2 separate regions of the Homo sapiens genome follow, and region 1 is linked to region 2. Evidence: promoter capture Hi-C in 16 types of primary human blood cells and fetal thymus (Javierre and others, 2016). All regions are on one chromosome and are shown on one strand. The core of a region is centred on a gene start or on the middle of the fragment in contact, and the rest is flanking DNA. Distances in the headings are between cores, read along the strand shown. Region 1 has its middle 6.5 kb from the start of TRY-GTA5-1. Region 2 holds the start of ARFGEF1 (ARF guanine nucleotide exchange factor 1).

Region 1 (7,535 bases), core at 499-2,998, 1.2 Mb after region 2:
GCCATTTTTACAGATAGCAATGTATCATGAAGGACACGTTATGTTTACCAGACATTTGGGAGGAAATAACAACAACTTCAAAAAGAAAGTCCAAGATGAACAAGTTAAATAAATGACCGAGGAGAAAACAAATAATGCAAAGAATAGAACAGAACTATTTAACAAAAAAGTAGTTAGGGATATCCTCAAGGACATCCAAGAGAGAGTTACAGCAATGAAAACCAAAATACAGTGATATTAACAGGAGCAACTAGGGAAGAAGAGAGTTCCTGAATACTAAAAGTATGATTGCTAAGGTGAAAAGTAACATACTGGTCATGGCTAAAGATCAGCTATGAAGATATAGAAGATAGAATGGAAAATATATCCCAGGACATCAGACCATGGAAAGCAAAAAATAAAAACATGACACTGGGTACAGTGGCTCACCCCTGTCATTCCAGTACTTTGGGAGGCCAGGGCGGGAGGATTGCTTGAAGCTAAGAGTTTGGGACCAGCCTGGGCAACAAAGCAAGACCCCCATCTCTACAAAAGATACGAAAATTAGCTAGACATGGTGGTGTTTACCTGTAGTCCCAGCTACTTGGGAGGCTGAGGCAGAAGGATCTCTTGAGCCCAGGAGTTCAAAGCTGCTGCGGGCTATGATTGATTGCACCATTGCACTCCAGCTCCTGGGACAGAGTGAGATCTGGTTATACACACACACACACACACACACACACACACACACACACACCAAAAAAAAGATAGAAAAGAAAAAAAAAAGAAAAGATAGATCCTGAAGACATAAAGAGTATCTAATATGAGCTCCAGAAAGAGAAAACAGAGACAATGCAGGGGTAAGAATAAAAGAAAGACATTGGTCATCAGATGGAAAGGATCATGCAAGTTAGGATGAATGAAAAATAACCATGCCTGGACACAGCCTAGTGACATTCAAAAGCATTGAGGATAAAGATGAAACCCTGTAACTTTCAGAGATGGAGGAAAACAAAGCAAAATCTAAACAAGAACTAGGCTAGCTACAAAGGAATAAGAATTGGATTATGATCAGACTTCTCATCATCATTACTGGATGCTAGAAGACAGTTGAGCATGGCCTTCAAAGCTCTGCAAAGAAATAATTTTAAGCCTAGAATTGTATGCCAATCAAAGTAGCAATCACATATGAGGACTAATAGTTCATAGTTGCAAGGTCTCATAAAGTTTAAATCTATGATTCCTCTCTGAAACAAATAAAAAGTAAGTAAACATTATTTGAGGATGTTGTACTGGATGGGTTCTCCAGTAAGCTGAAGCTCATGCAGAATTAGAGCACAACATTTTACAGGGGAGTAACATCTGTGAATGGAAAAGGGGAGGACACAGGATTGGGTAGGGGTAGTCATTAGACAGTGATGCAGACCCGACAAAGTTTCTGCCAACCCTCTTGGTGGCTCCAGAGCAAAGATTTCCTTTTGGAGGAGTCTCAAGTTGGGCAGAAATGGTGGGGCCCTAGCATCACCACCTTGCTCAGTCATTGGCCAGAGGCTTAGAACCTTGGCTAGAGGAGTTAACACCTGATGGCTACTAGTTAACCATCCTCCTTGCAGCTGGGCAGTGAGTTCTTTCTTGAAAGGCAGTCTAGCAGCATGTCTCTGTGTATGCCATGGATGTACTTCAGCAAAGCAAAGTAAGAATCCAAGAAGGAGGAGTACACAGGATTTAAGAAAAAAGGAAACCAACCCAGGGACTCAATGAAAAGAAAATCTCAGGTTGACAGTGATGCAGCTGGCAAAGAAAGCAATCAGGACAAATTAAGGGGAGGAAAAAAAAGTTAGAGGGCTCTGGGAAGTTTATTTTTCAAAAAGAAGCGGATTCTTTTACAATAGTAGTGTGATTAAGGATCTGGGAGACCTTAGAGATATGATAAAGGCACATGTCACTTTTCTCAAAAAGACAGAACGAAGATACTCAGGGATTTCTAAAAAAAACAAAAAAACAAAAAAAAACTTTATAAAAAATACGTGGTTCAAATATAAAGCAAACTGAAATATGGCACAATTTTGAGAAATTGATGGCATGCTTGTTGTTGGGCTGAATTGTGTTCTGTCTTCCCTCCCCACCCCAATTTATTTGTTGAAGACCTAACCCCTAGTACTTCAGAATGTGACTGTATTTGGAGATAAGGCCTTTAAAGAGGTAATTAAGCAAAAATGAGGTCATTAGGGTGCACCCTGATCCAATACAACTGGTGTCCTTATAAGGAGAACAGAATACAGAGACAGCAGGCACATGCATGCATAGAGAGAAGGCTACAGGAAGACGCAGGGAGAAGACGGCCATCTACAAGCCACGGAGAGAGGTCTCAGAAGAAACCAAACCTGCCAATACCTTGAGCTTAGACTTCTAGCCTCTAGAAGTGTGAGAAAACAAATTTATCTTTTTAAAAGCCACCCAGTCTGTGATATTTTGTTATGATAGCCCTAACAAACTATATGGGGATGGTGAAGAAATTTGCTTTTGTTTCTGCATTTTTTGACATCATTACATTTTTGTTTAACCATATGTAAGTTATTTTACATAACACGTATGGGTCAGAGTGTCCCATAATTGTCATCTAATTATAGATATTCTGTAATAAAAATTGCTTAAGAATGAAGAAACTGAGGCCCAAATATGTGAAATGACTTATCCAAGGTAACAGAGGGGAGAAGTGGCATATGAGATCTTAGGCCTCCTGAATCACAGCCAGGGCTTTCTGTAGCACTGCTTGGTCTCTCTGTCCTCAGATGGACACTTGGGTTAGGGATATTGGGCTGGCAGCTGCTACTCTGGGAGGAAGGAGGTTGAAAGGCAGGTTCTGATGCCAGTACGGTCAGAAAATGGACATTCTGGGAGTAGAAAAGCGTTTCATCTATTAAAGGTTATTCTCTTCTCACCTCTAAATCCAAAGGTGAAATCCCTTAAATTTGTTAACAGCAGTGCTCCAAGGAGGTGTGTCAAGACTCCGTGAAATGTGAAAAAAAAAAGCCATTGTTTATTTGAAAAATTATTCCTTAGACATATGTGCACTAAAGAGCTTTCAAGTTTTTCCTTTCAGTCAAGGAAACCATTCTACAGATCAGGAAGCTCTACCCAGAAAGATTAAACAATGTCTTTAGGATGACCATCCAGATTAGGGGAGCAAGGCTGTATTCAGGCTTACTGACTTATCCATGGTTTTCTCTAAATATGCACCATCTCCAAGAAGGATATTTGTGAGAAACCACAGAGATGTTGTTTCTAGGTCAGAAAGGGAACTATTCTGGGGAATTCCAGGGAAGGTACACTTGATTCTCATTATTCGTGTAATTACATTGTATAAAGTCATTTTGAACTCTGATTTAGTGAATGCTGAAAACATTGCTCCCAGGGGAAATAAACGGAGGCTCTGGCCATAATGTTTTTGTCAACTGATCAATGGATAATCTTGTTTTATGTGTGTTTCTGTTGAAGGACACCTTATTTAATACAGTTGATCCTTGAAAAACAAGAATTTAAACTGGGTAGGTCCATTCATACATAGATTTTTTTCAATGAATATATTGGAAATTTTTTTGGAGATCTGCAACAATTTGAAAAAACTTGACATGAGCCAAATAGCCTACAAATATTAAAAAATTAAGACAAAGGTATATCATGAATGCATGAAATATATGTAGATAGTAGTCTATTTTGTCATGTATTACCATAAAATTTTAAGAAGTTAAAATTTCTCAAAACTTATACAAACCCAAATTGTACATGGCACCATGCACAGTTAAAAGAAATGTGAATAAACATAAAGATGCAATATTAAATCACAGCTGCATAAAATTAACCATAGTACATACTGTACTACTGTGATAATTTCATAGCCACCTCCCATTGCTACTGTGGTGACCTCAAGTATTTCGAATATCTGCTTAAAATGCCATGTACGTGACTTTAATAATCTCCCTATGAGCAGTTTGTCTCTCCAGCAAATTGCCTGTGGCAGTAAAAAGTGATCTCTTGTGGGTCTCGAGGATTTTTTAATTGTAGTGAAATACCACAAACCTTGAATAACACCACAGGACCCATACGAAGTGCCACTCATGATGCTGGATATGCTCCCAAGAAGCAGAGAAAAGTCTTGATCCAAAAAGAAAAAGTTGAATTGCTTAATATGGACCATAGATTGAGGTCTACAGCTGTGGTTGCCAGGCATTTCAAGATAAATGAATCCAGTGTAAGGACCTTTGTGAAGCCGTCACTACAGCTGGCTAGCAGGCATGAAACCCTTGCACGTTTTGCCAAAAACCTCTTTATCTTGTATTGAAAATGCAGCTTTTACATGGGTACGGAATTGCTCTAAGAAAGACATACCTATAGACTCTAATATAATTCCAGAAAAAACAAAGTCATTATATGACAACTTAAGGCAAAAGGAAGGGGAAGGGTCTAAAGCTGGAGAATTTAATGCCAGCAAAGGAAGGTTTGATAATTTTAGAAAGCAGTTTTGGCTTTAAAAATGTCAAGATAACAAGAGCAGCTTCCTGACCAAGAGGCAGCAGGTGAATTTCTGGATGTCATTAAGAAAATCATTGAGGAGAAAAGAGATCTGCCTGAATGGTATTTAATGCAGATGACAATGCCCTATTCTGGGAAAAAAAAATGTCACAAAGGACATGTATTAGTAGGGATGAGAAGTGAGCCCCAAGATTTAAGGCAGGAAGGGATAGGCTACCTCTACTGTTTTGTGCAAACGCCATTGGGTTTATGAGTCAGACTGCCCTTATCTGTGAAGCTGCTAACAACCAAGCCTTGAAGGAAAAAGATAAAACACCAGCAGCCAGTCTTTTGGTTGCACAACAAGAAGGCCTGGACAATGAGAACCCTTTCTCTGGATTGCTTCCATCCATGCTTTATCCTTGAAGTCAGGAAGTACCTTGCCAGTAAGGTACTATCTTTTAAAAAAATTCTTTGATATTGAACAATGCCCCTGGCCACTCACAACCCCACAGTCTACTATACCCAGACCAAGCCCCTTTGTCTTGCCACATCCCTAATATTTATCATTCTTTGTTTAAAAAGGTACTTAAGCTTTTGGACCTAATGTCTTCTTTGGGTCTTCATTTTTCTTATAAAGACTTCCATGGACATATAAATATTAAATAAGATGCGTATGCTTTTCTCCTGTTAATATGTTTTATGCTATTATCGTTTAATTCTTAGGCCCAGCCACAGAACCTAAGATGACAGAAGGAAGTATTTCCTCCCCTACAGTTTGTGTAAAGAAAGTTTGTCCTCTTCTAGGTAGGTAACTCCACAAATATGGAATGAAGATTGACTGCATTATTCACCCAAATGCAATCCTGAATTATATGCCAAATCACTACATCAAAAGATATTTAATGAGACCAAGCCCCAGCCTACCTCCCCTTTGAAGGGGGTTAACATTTGTACTACTGGGAGATGGCAAGGCCAACCCATCTCATTCCCAGGGCTCTGTAAGTCCTGAAAGCTCACTTGCAGTCTTCCATGCTCGGGGAAGTGGGAGCATCATCTTGCTCATACAGCATCTTTCCGAAAGGTATGATTGGTGGTGGTGGGAGGGTGTGGCCAGGAGGTTTTCTTCAGAGACTCACATTTATTCTTTTATTTAAATGTTTATTTAGTCTGTACTATGTGCTAGGCATTGTTCTAGAGCTGAGGATAAGGATACAGCAGTAAGCAAAGCAGACAGAAATCTCTATCTTGGTGAAGCACACATTCTGGAAGGGTAAATAGACAATAAGAAGACAATAAATAATATATACAGTAGGCTGTACAGTAATGAATGCCAAAGAGAAAAATAAAGCACAGTAGAGCAGGAGTGTGGCAGGTGTTGTGCTTCCTATAATGGCAAAATGACACAGATGACCGGAAGCAAAATAAATTGCTTATGGTATATAGACATCTATGTATATATACACACATGCACACACCACACACATATATTCATACACATATACACACACAAATGTATTCATACACATGAACATACACACGTTCTTTATTTTAAATGGCAACAAAGTTCTTTTTAAAAATTTGCAAATTGTATTTCCTTTGTATAATACTATGAAAAATAATAAAGCATTGCTAATTTAGTAGTCTGGCAGATTCAATGGTATATTTTTACTTCATAATTTGTATCATATTTTGTACAATGGAGAAATTGGGTAGAATTTCACTTTTATTATGAATGGATAACATGAAAATATTTTACTTCTAATTGTATGAGTGATATTAAGATGCCTTATTTTTATATATAGTAACAAATGTTCCCACCCCAATCTTATGGACTCAGAATAATAGAGCAAATTGTATTAACTTGGATTTATAAGCTTATGGTATCCACTTTTGGTGAGAGGGACAAATTAGAACATACTCAATGTATACACTATTTTGACATTAAATAAGCAGTTGTAAATCCAAGTTTACAGAATTCAGATATGTCTTAGGGCACCAAGGTGGCATAGTAATTAAGCAGACAGATGCTACAACCAGACTAGCTGAGTTCAAATGCTGGCTCTCCCATTATTAACAGCCTGAGTTAATTAATGACTCTCTGCTGCCCAATTTTCCCATCTGTGAAATGGGAAATAGTAATTGTGCCTACCTCATAGGGTTGCTGTGTGAATTACATGAGTTAACTTATATTAAGCAGCTAGAATCGTGTCTGGCACATAGTAAGCACAACATATGTTTGCTATTTTATCTTTAAAAGTTTTCTCGGCACTATCTAAACATCCTGGAAAATTATGTCAGGAAGTTATGTATCAGAATTTTTAAAATCACAATTATTAGAACCAGCTGCTCTAGAATCACTTTGAAAATTTTTTAAAAATCCAACTTTTCACTTGATTAGGGTTGCAGTTATGGGTTAGTCAGAGAAGAGAAGGTGGTAAAGACATAGCTGCTAAGACCACAGAGATCTCCCAAATAAGGAAGTGCTGGGGTGGCGGGGAGCGGGGAGAGGAAGAAAAAGGGGAAGGGGAAGGAGTGGGAGTGAAGTAAGAGATATAGGAAGCCTTCAGATTTGCTCTTGAGGAAGTCACAGGGAATTAACAAGGAAGATTTCTTAGGGGAATCTCCTTGAGCTGCAAAGGGCAGTTGAAGAGAAAGGTAGTTAATAAAGGGAGTGACACAGTGAGTATATTCTCTTGAAAGTCAGAGAACTCTGGGAAAGAGTTGGATGGGGAGTGGGGAAGAGACTAGGATTCATGTTCAAGAACAAATGTAGTTGGAAACACAAGGTCATCCTGGAGAGGCTATATAGTGCAGCTGTTAATATTGTGGCCTCAGGACCAGCCTGCTCTACTCCATAGCTAGGTGTTCTTAGCCAAGTTACTTATCTTTTCTGTGTTCCAGTTACATAGTCTAGAAAATGACAGATGATGATGGTGACAGTACTTCTCTCACAGGTTGTTGTATTAAATGAATCAATATAAAGCTCTTAGGGCAGTGTCAGGTACTAAGCACTACGACTCTTGGTTATTATTCTCTTAGAA
Region 2 (7,304 bases), core at 3,584-6,083:
CATCACTGAGTACTCCCATAACTGTACCACGCACAGGTTAATACATCTTTGCTTTTATTAATCTGTCTTTTGTCCATCTAATTTGCAGAGCCCCAGCCAATGAACTAACAACACGGGTAGAGGGAAAATAATTTTTTTCCTCCTCTACCAATGTCAGGAGTCAGATTATGGAATGTTTAAATTCTGAGATTATGTGAGAAAGACTACCGGAGGCATCACATAGTTTTTTTTAGTCAAGTAAACATGATGTTATTTTTTATGTTAACTAATATTGGCTTTCAACATCAACCAAATATGCTCCACATTAATTAAAATTTTATTCAGATTTTAATCTTTGTGTTACACTCAATGTATATCTATATTTAAAAGGACTATGATAAAGCACACCAATAAAGATGCTAAAACCCAGATCAAAGTCTTTTATTGCTTGATATTATTTGACTCTTTGGAAACAAGTGGGAAAATTATCCAAGAAGTAAAGCCAAAGCAGCTAGTACGCAGCAAACTAACAGATGGAAGGGGAAATGATGAGGGGGAATTAGGTGATAGGAAGGTGAGAGTGCAAACTGAGAGGCAAAATGGACTCAGGAAAGCAATTATGTATAAGAAAAATATATAGCTGGGCTTAGTGGTGGGCGCCTGTAATCCCAGCTACTCAGGAGGCTGAGGCAAGAGAACTGCTTGAACTCGGGAGGCGGAGGTTGCAGTGAGCCGAGATCGTTCCACTGCACTCCAACCCGGGTAACAAAGTGAGACTCCGTCTCAAAAAATAATAATAACAAAAAACAAAAAATAAAACAAAACAAAAAAAGGAAAAATATATTTCAAAATTTAGAGGATAGATATTTTAGAAATTCAGAAATAGAATTTGGATGTTTTGAAAACTGCAAGGAGCCAAGTGCAAGTGAATACTGAGATTGCATTTATTTACATAGCTGTATATTAGCACCAAACAACATTAATAATAAAAAGTAAAAAATATATATATACAGGGGAATGTACTCATAATTTCTTTTCTTTTTTTTTTTAATTGAGATCGAGTCTCACTCTGTTGCTCCGGCTGGAGTGCAGCAGCATGATCTTGGCTCACTGCAACCTCCGCCTCCTGGGTTCAAGCGATTCTCCTATCTCAGCCTCCTGAGTATCTGGGATTACAGGCACCCGCCACCACGCCCACCTAATTTTGTATTTTTAGTAGAAACGGGGTTTCACCATGTTGGCCAGGCTGGTCCTGAACTCCTGACCTCAGGTGATCCACCCGCCTCAGCCTCCCAAAGTGCTGGGTTTACAGGAATGAGCCACAGTGCCTGGTCTGTACTCATAATTTCATGTAAAAATCTCCTTTGCCACTCCCTGTGTACCTGTCAATAAAAGATTGAAAATATCCAAGAGCATCAGCTTTATTCTAGAGTCTTACTCTATTTTTGCTACAGGTCTGAGTTAGTATCTTGAGTTTCAAGTGGATAGGAGTGCCCATCTCGTAAGACTACTCCTACCCCCCTCCACCCTCAAGCACCACCACCTTTTGGGTAAACCCAGCAAGGGAAGAGGATGAGTTGTCCTCCCAAAGGAAGATGCAAATCATTCCTTCTGGGAGGGTTAGGTCATATCTCAGAGGAGTTTATTCTTCTGAAACTGACAACTACACTCTTTACCCTCAAATCTTCCATCTAGCCTATCTCTACAAATGGCATTTCCAACTGTTCACTGGTTCCCAGCAGAAACCTGGTATTCATTTGTGACCTCTTTCTCTCTCTAACCTGCACTCCAGTTAATTAAGTCCGGTTTATTCTGCCACCAAAGTATATCCCAAATCTGTCTACTTTGCTCCATCTCCATGCTACCACTGTCATTTCTGGGCTAACCTTTATGCAAATTAGTGAAAGAAGCCTCTTCTTTTGGGCAGACAGTGGGGCTGGATTTCAGCCACACTTGCTCCCTTGTGCCACGATCTCCACAACCTTGCTTGGTGGCCCTGGACCTGACCAAGCCATCCTGCGCTGTTGTAATAAATTTCTTAAAATGTTTTGCCACATCCTCACTTCTCCCCCTCCAATCCATTCTCCATGTAACAGAGGGATTATTTTAAAATCACCAATTTGATCACTTTATCCCCCACTTTTAAAACCTTTCAATGAATTTCCATTGTTATTACGATGAAATTGCAACCCCCTAACATGGCCTACGAGAGTCTGAATGATCTGGTTCCTAGCTCCCTCTTCATCCTGACTGGCACCATTCTCCTTGATCCTTTCAGCCACACTGCCTTGTTTTGTTTCCTGAAACTTGCCAAGCTTCCCCCTACCCCAAGAGACTTTGCCTGGAAAGTTCTTCATGACTTAGTTTGGCTAATGTCTACTCTTCTTTCAGGTCTCAATTTAATTTACTTCTCCCTTCTCTCACAGCACTCTATTCTTTAATCATACTCAACAGATTTGTAATTGTATATTCACTACTGACTTAATATCTTTTCCCTACTCTATACTGTAAGGTCCAAAAGGGCAGGTATCATGCTTGTCTTAGCCTGGTGCCTTTCATTTATCCAAGTTTCTATAAGTTTATAGCAAAGGCCTTCTCTATGCCAGCAATATAATAGATGATGGGCACACAGAAGTGAATAGACAGAGATATGAGGTCCCTGCACTTATGAGAGAAACATGCAACCAATCAACAAGCAAGGCAAGCAGATGAGATGATTATGAATGCTGTGGCACTATCATATCATAGTTCACTGCAGCCTCGAACTCCTGAGCTCAAGCGATCCTTCCTCCTCAGTCTCCTGAGCAGCTGCAACTACAGGTGGATGCCACCGTGCCTGGCTAATTTTTCTTTATTTTTTGTAAAGACAGTGTCTTGCTACGTTGCCCAGTTTCATCTGCAAATCCCGGCCTCAAGCCATTCTCCTGCCTTGGCCTCCCAAAGTGCTGGGACTACAGGTGCCAGCTTGTCTTGTTCATCAATGAATCCCAAGTATGTTTTACGATAAAGCTGACAGCTAAACATAACCGAAGAGTCTGCTTCGTTCATGTAAAGTACAAAATAGTTATTCTAGATGGTTCTTCTCCAAGAGTTCCAATTCAGAAACTAAGACTCCTAACTTGTGGTTCTGCCATCTTCAGCTGTGGCCATAGAAGGGAAAAGAGAGACTGGGCATGGTGGCTTATGCCTGTAATCTCAGCACTGGGAGGCTGAGGCAGGAGGATCGCTTGAGGCCACGAGTTCAACATGGTGAGATGCCATCTCTACCAAAAGAAAAAAAAAAAAAAGGGAAACAGCATGAAAGATTGCTTGTGGGAATTTCTTGTTGGTTTTTTAACAATAGGTTAAGCCTGGATGGCTACACCTAACTTCAAGGGAGGCTGGACAATGCAATTCTATACTAAGAAAGAAGAGTAAATGGGTTTGGTGATCAGCTAGTACCCTCAACAGTACCTGGCACAACACTCCATTATGAAGAAACAAAGATGAATTAGAAATGGATCAACACCTGTGAAAGAAGGGAAGAAAAAAATAAAAGAAATGGAACTTGTTCTAAAAAAGTTTATTAACGTATACACAGAAATCAGTATTATATCTGATCTAAGAGTATAATGAATCCTTCATTTCCAGGAATCTAGAGATAGTCTCTAAAATAAAATTAATGAATTTATAGATTTGTTTCTCAGGACAATAAAGTTTAAAAAAATTAATCTATTTTTCCACTTTAATTTGTCACCTTCAAGTTTTCCATTTTATTTCCTCTGGGTTTTAGCCTTCCTAAATCTGGTCACTTCACTAAGTTCACAGAGTCACTTAAGTTTCTCCTTCCTTAGGTTTGGATGGTTACGTTAGGACAAGCCTATAGTTAAGGCAATCTAATAGAACAGAACAGTGACAGATGCATAGTAAACATTAGGGAACCTGTGTGCGTGGAGCCACAGAAGCTTAGAACTTGGAGACGTGACCCTAGATCACCATATATAATGTTTGCAAATATTTTTATGGTATTCTTTTTCTGCTCAGAAGGAAACTGTAGAAATTAAATACTGCAGAAATTTGAGTTCTACACTCAGACTAAAGCAAACACATGGTCACGTGTGTTAATCTGTTTGTACTTAAAGCTTTTCCATTCTAAACTGGTTTACATGTCCTGGACTAAATCTTAGTATTAAAGGCACAGAAACACAGAACTCTAAGGGACCTCATTCACAACCATTCACCTTAACTGAGTCAATTCAGAAGGGACCTGAAATCTAGAGTTGACCGATTTATCCGACAGAGAGAGAAAAAAGTGAAACATTTTTGAACCCTTATCAATAGGTTTTGGCTTACTTTTCCCAAAACAGAATCCTCCCTGAGGTAGTCGGAGAGCAGAGTCCTGGACAGCAGTTCCGTGCACTAGGGAAGGAAATTTTAGAGTCGAGTGATGCAGGCGGAGACCCTGCGGCTGAGAACGGGCGATGCGGGTGTTGCTGTGACCCCTGGAATGCAAAGGACTGCACCCCCATCAGAAAGTTAGAAAGCCAGTGCAGAGTAGCCAGGAGTCCTGTTCACTCGGCAGGAGCAGGGGTGCCGAGTGGGGGGATCTCTGGTCCCGCAGCTCGGCCGCCACCAAGAGCCCGAAGTGCTGGGCGCGGTGCCACCAGAGGCCCGCCACGCCCCACGCCGCCCTGCAGGCGAACGCTGGAGGCCCCGCCGGGCCGCCGTAGCGCTGCGGCTCGGGCCGCTCCTCCCGCGCCGCCCTCCGCCCCCAGCCTCCCGGCGCCGCGGCAGCTCTGGGCAGGGAGCGCCGCCGCCGCCGCCGCCGCCGCCGCTTCCTCGTCTGCAGCCGTTCGGCCGCTGCGTGACGCGTCGTTTCCTCCCAACATGGCGGCCGGGGCAGGTCGGCGGTGATGGGGGCCAGTTCGCGGCCGCGGCGGGTGCTAATCCCCACAGTAGCCAGGGTAGCCCTTCTCTCGCGGTGCCTCTGAGAGCCGCCGCCACCTCGTCCCTCAGTTCCCGGCAGACAGCCGCCCGGGCCGGGCTCCCTCACCGCCACCAGGGCCGGAGGGACGAGTGAGAGGGGCGGCCGGGACGCGACCCCCGGGCCGGGAGAAGCGGAGGCCCGACGGGCGCGGCCCTCGAGGTACGGCTTCTTGGGGGCGGCGAGGACCTCGACGCCCTTCGCCGACACCGCGGCTGGTCCCGCTCGCCCGCCCCTTCCTGATCCTGCCGCTGCCCTCCACGCCTCCAATCCCCCACCTCCACCCCCTCTCCTTTCTCTCTTCTCTTCCTTCCTCTCCTCCTCCTCCCCTCCAGCCGCTGGGAGCCGCGGGTCGGACGAGCCGCCGCCTCCTTCTCTGCGTCCATGTATGAGGGGAAGAAGACGAAGAACATGTTCCTGACCCGGGCTCTGGAGAAGATATTGGCCGACAAGGAAGTGAAGAAGGCGCATCACTCCCAGCTGCGCAAAGCTTGCGAGGTGGCGTTAGGTGAGCGGGGAGGAGGCCCGGGGGATGGGGTGCTTGTTGTGGGGCGGGGAGGGGGGCGCCTGTGGGGGGGTGGGGTCGCCCGGGGCTTGCCCGAGGCCCGCGCCTCTGACCTCGGGAAGCCCTCGCGGAGCCCTCTGTTCCCTGTCTGGAGTTGACAGGAACTCGGCTGGATGTGGGGCAGAGGCGGGGTAGAGGAGGAAGGGCAGTGAGCTGGGCTCGGGAAACGCGGCAGGGCTTAGGATCGCGGGGCACCTGGGTTCGAGGGATCGACTTGAGAGTGAGAGGATTTTGTTGGTGGTCCGTGAGGTGCGGACTGGATACCACCCTTTGTGATGAAGCAGAAGATGAGCTGTTGTTTATTAGCTTGGAAATTGAGGTGGGGCTGGTATGTCAAGATTGGGTGTGGGAAAGGTTCCGTATCATAATTAACAATAACTTTTTCGTTTGGCGAGGTACTTTGGGGAGATAGGCTGCTGAAGTTGTTTCCTTGTTGACAGTCTTGAGAAGGGGTTTGCAAGAGGTGCAGCCCGTTCTGACATCTCTCCGCCTCCGCCACAGGAAAAACATAGAGTAATATTGTATCTGACTGGGCTGACCTGGAAGAACAAGACCGGTGGTTAAGGGGTGAGGGTGGGGGTGGCGGCATGAAAGCAGGGAAGCAAAGAACCTTTAGATAAAATGGCTTTAGGTGACAAGGGAAGGGAGGGTTTGAAATGAGGAAAATGAAAAAGACAATGACACCCACCAGCCACATGTCTGGACAGTGGCAGCTGCTCTCAAGCTTGAATTGTGATTTATAGTTCAGATGGAAGAGATCTAGTGTAATGAAGCCCGCAGCAGGGAAAATCCAAACAATACCTCCTACCTATGAGGTTAGGCAGATGAGGAGTTGTTAAAGGGGGAACATTGTTAGATCTATTGCATCCATCAAAGTTGAAATCGTTTGAGAGACCAGAACATTTAACACAAAGATACATTCCTAATGTTTACACTTTATAGCACTGGAAATACACTAGGTCAAATTGGCAAGAAAAGGAAGCTTGTTAAATGGGCTTTACAAAAAAGCATTCTTGAAAGGGGAAAAATCCACAATAACTTAAAGTATGCTAGAGTTAAGGAGTCTAGACAACTTAAAATTAGCTTTTAATTATTAAATGGAAGACTACCATTTAATTTGCTGTAATATACTGTAGTTTTTTTTTCCTAGATCGTTAAAATTGGTAATATGAAAAACGTCGAAGAAATTTCATCTTAAAACATTTGAATGTGTAGTATTAGGGGCTTAAGATTATTTTTTCACCTTACTTATCGACCAGAAGTTTGCATTTTGTTATTTTTGTAGCTAACAAAAGACTGTTCCCGGTGTATGAGAAGACAGTTGTCTAGTGGCAAAAACTGTATTTATATCTAGATCCTGAAAGGAATAATATTAAATTGGAGTGAGACTGGGGAGAAAGTGATTTCAGGATTTTTAAAAGAATTGTTATATGTAGGTTTGTAAATTACTTGAAGGTTGAAGAACTTTAGAGAGATTCAAATTAAAGTTTTAAATTTTTGTTTGTTTTTTGAGACAGGGGCTTGCTCTGTCACCCAGACTGAAGCGCAGTGACACAATCAGTGCTCAGTGCCGCCTCAAACTCCCAGGATCAGGCATTCCTCCTGCCTCAGCCTCCCAAGTAATTGGGACTTCAGGCACACCACCACACCTGGCTAATTTTTTTTTTTTTTTTTTTTTTTTGGTGGAGATGGCGGTCTCTCTATATCGCCCAGGCTGGTCTCCAAATCTGGGCTGAAGAGAGCCTCCCACCTTGGCCTCCCAAAGTGCTGAGTTTATAGGCATGAGCTACCTCTCCT

What was found. Contacts are between HindIII fragments. The CHiCAGO score rates a contact against its expected background, and 5 or more counts as called.
Region 1: a contact is called between a fragment that was not itself captured here and the fragment with the promoter of ARFGEF1 in region 2, in 4 of 17 cell types (non-activated CD4 T cells, total B cells, monocytes and 1 more). The highest score is 8.5, in non-activated CD4 T cells.

The regions. Positions count from the first base shown.
Region 1 is chr8:66,103,125-66,110,659 of GRCh38, reverse strand. No RefSeq gene overlaps it. Among named protein-coding and RNA genes, the nearest start is that of TRY-GTA5-1, 6.5 kb to the left of the region's middle. The HindIII fragment of the contact is 6,679 bases long and covers 1-5,087 here.
Region 2 is chr8:67,341,310-67,348,613 of GRCh38, reverse strand. ARFGEF1 (ARF guanine nucleotide exchange factor 1) reads left to right here and starts at 4,833. Exons shown (of 39, transcript NM_006421.5): 1 at 4,833-5,450. The coding sequence starts at 5,327. It overlaps ARFGEF1-DT (ARFGEF1 divergent transcript), which reads right to left and starts at 4,780. Exons shown (of 5, transcript NR_136224.1): 1 at 4,312-4,780. RefSeq lists silencers at 4,543-4,802, 4,983-5,212 and an enhancer at 5,139-5,819. The HindIII fragment of the contact is 1,332 bases long and covers 4,103-5,434 here.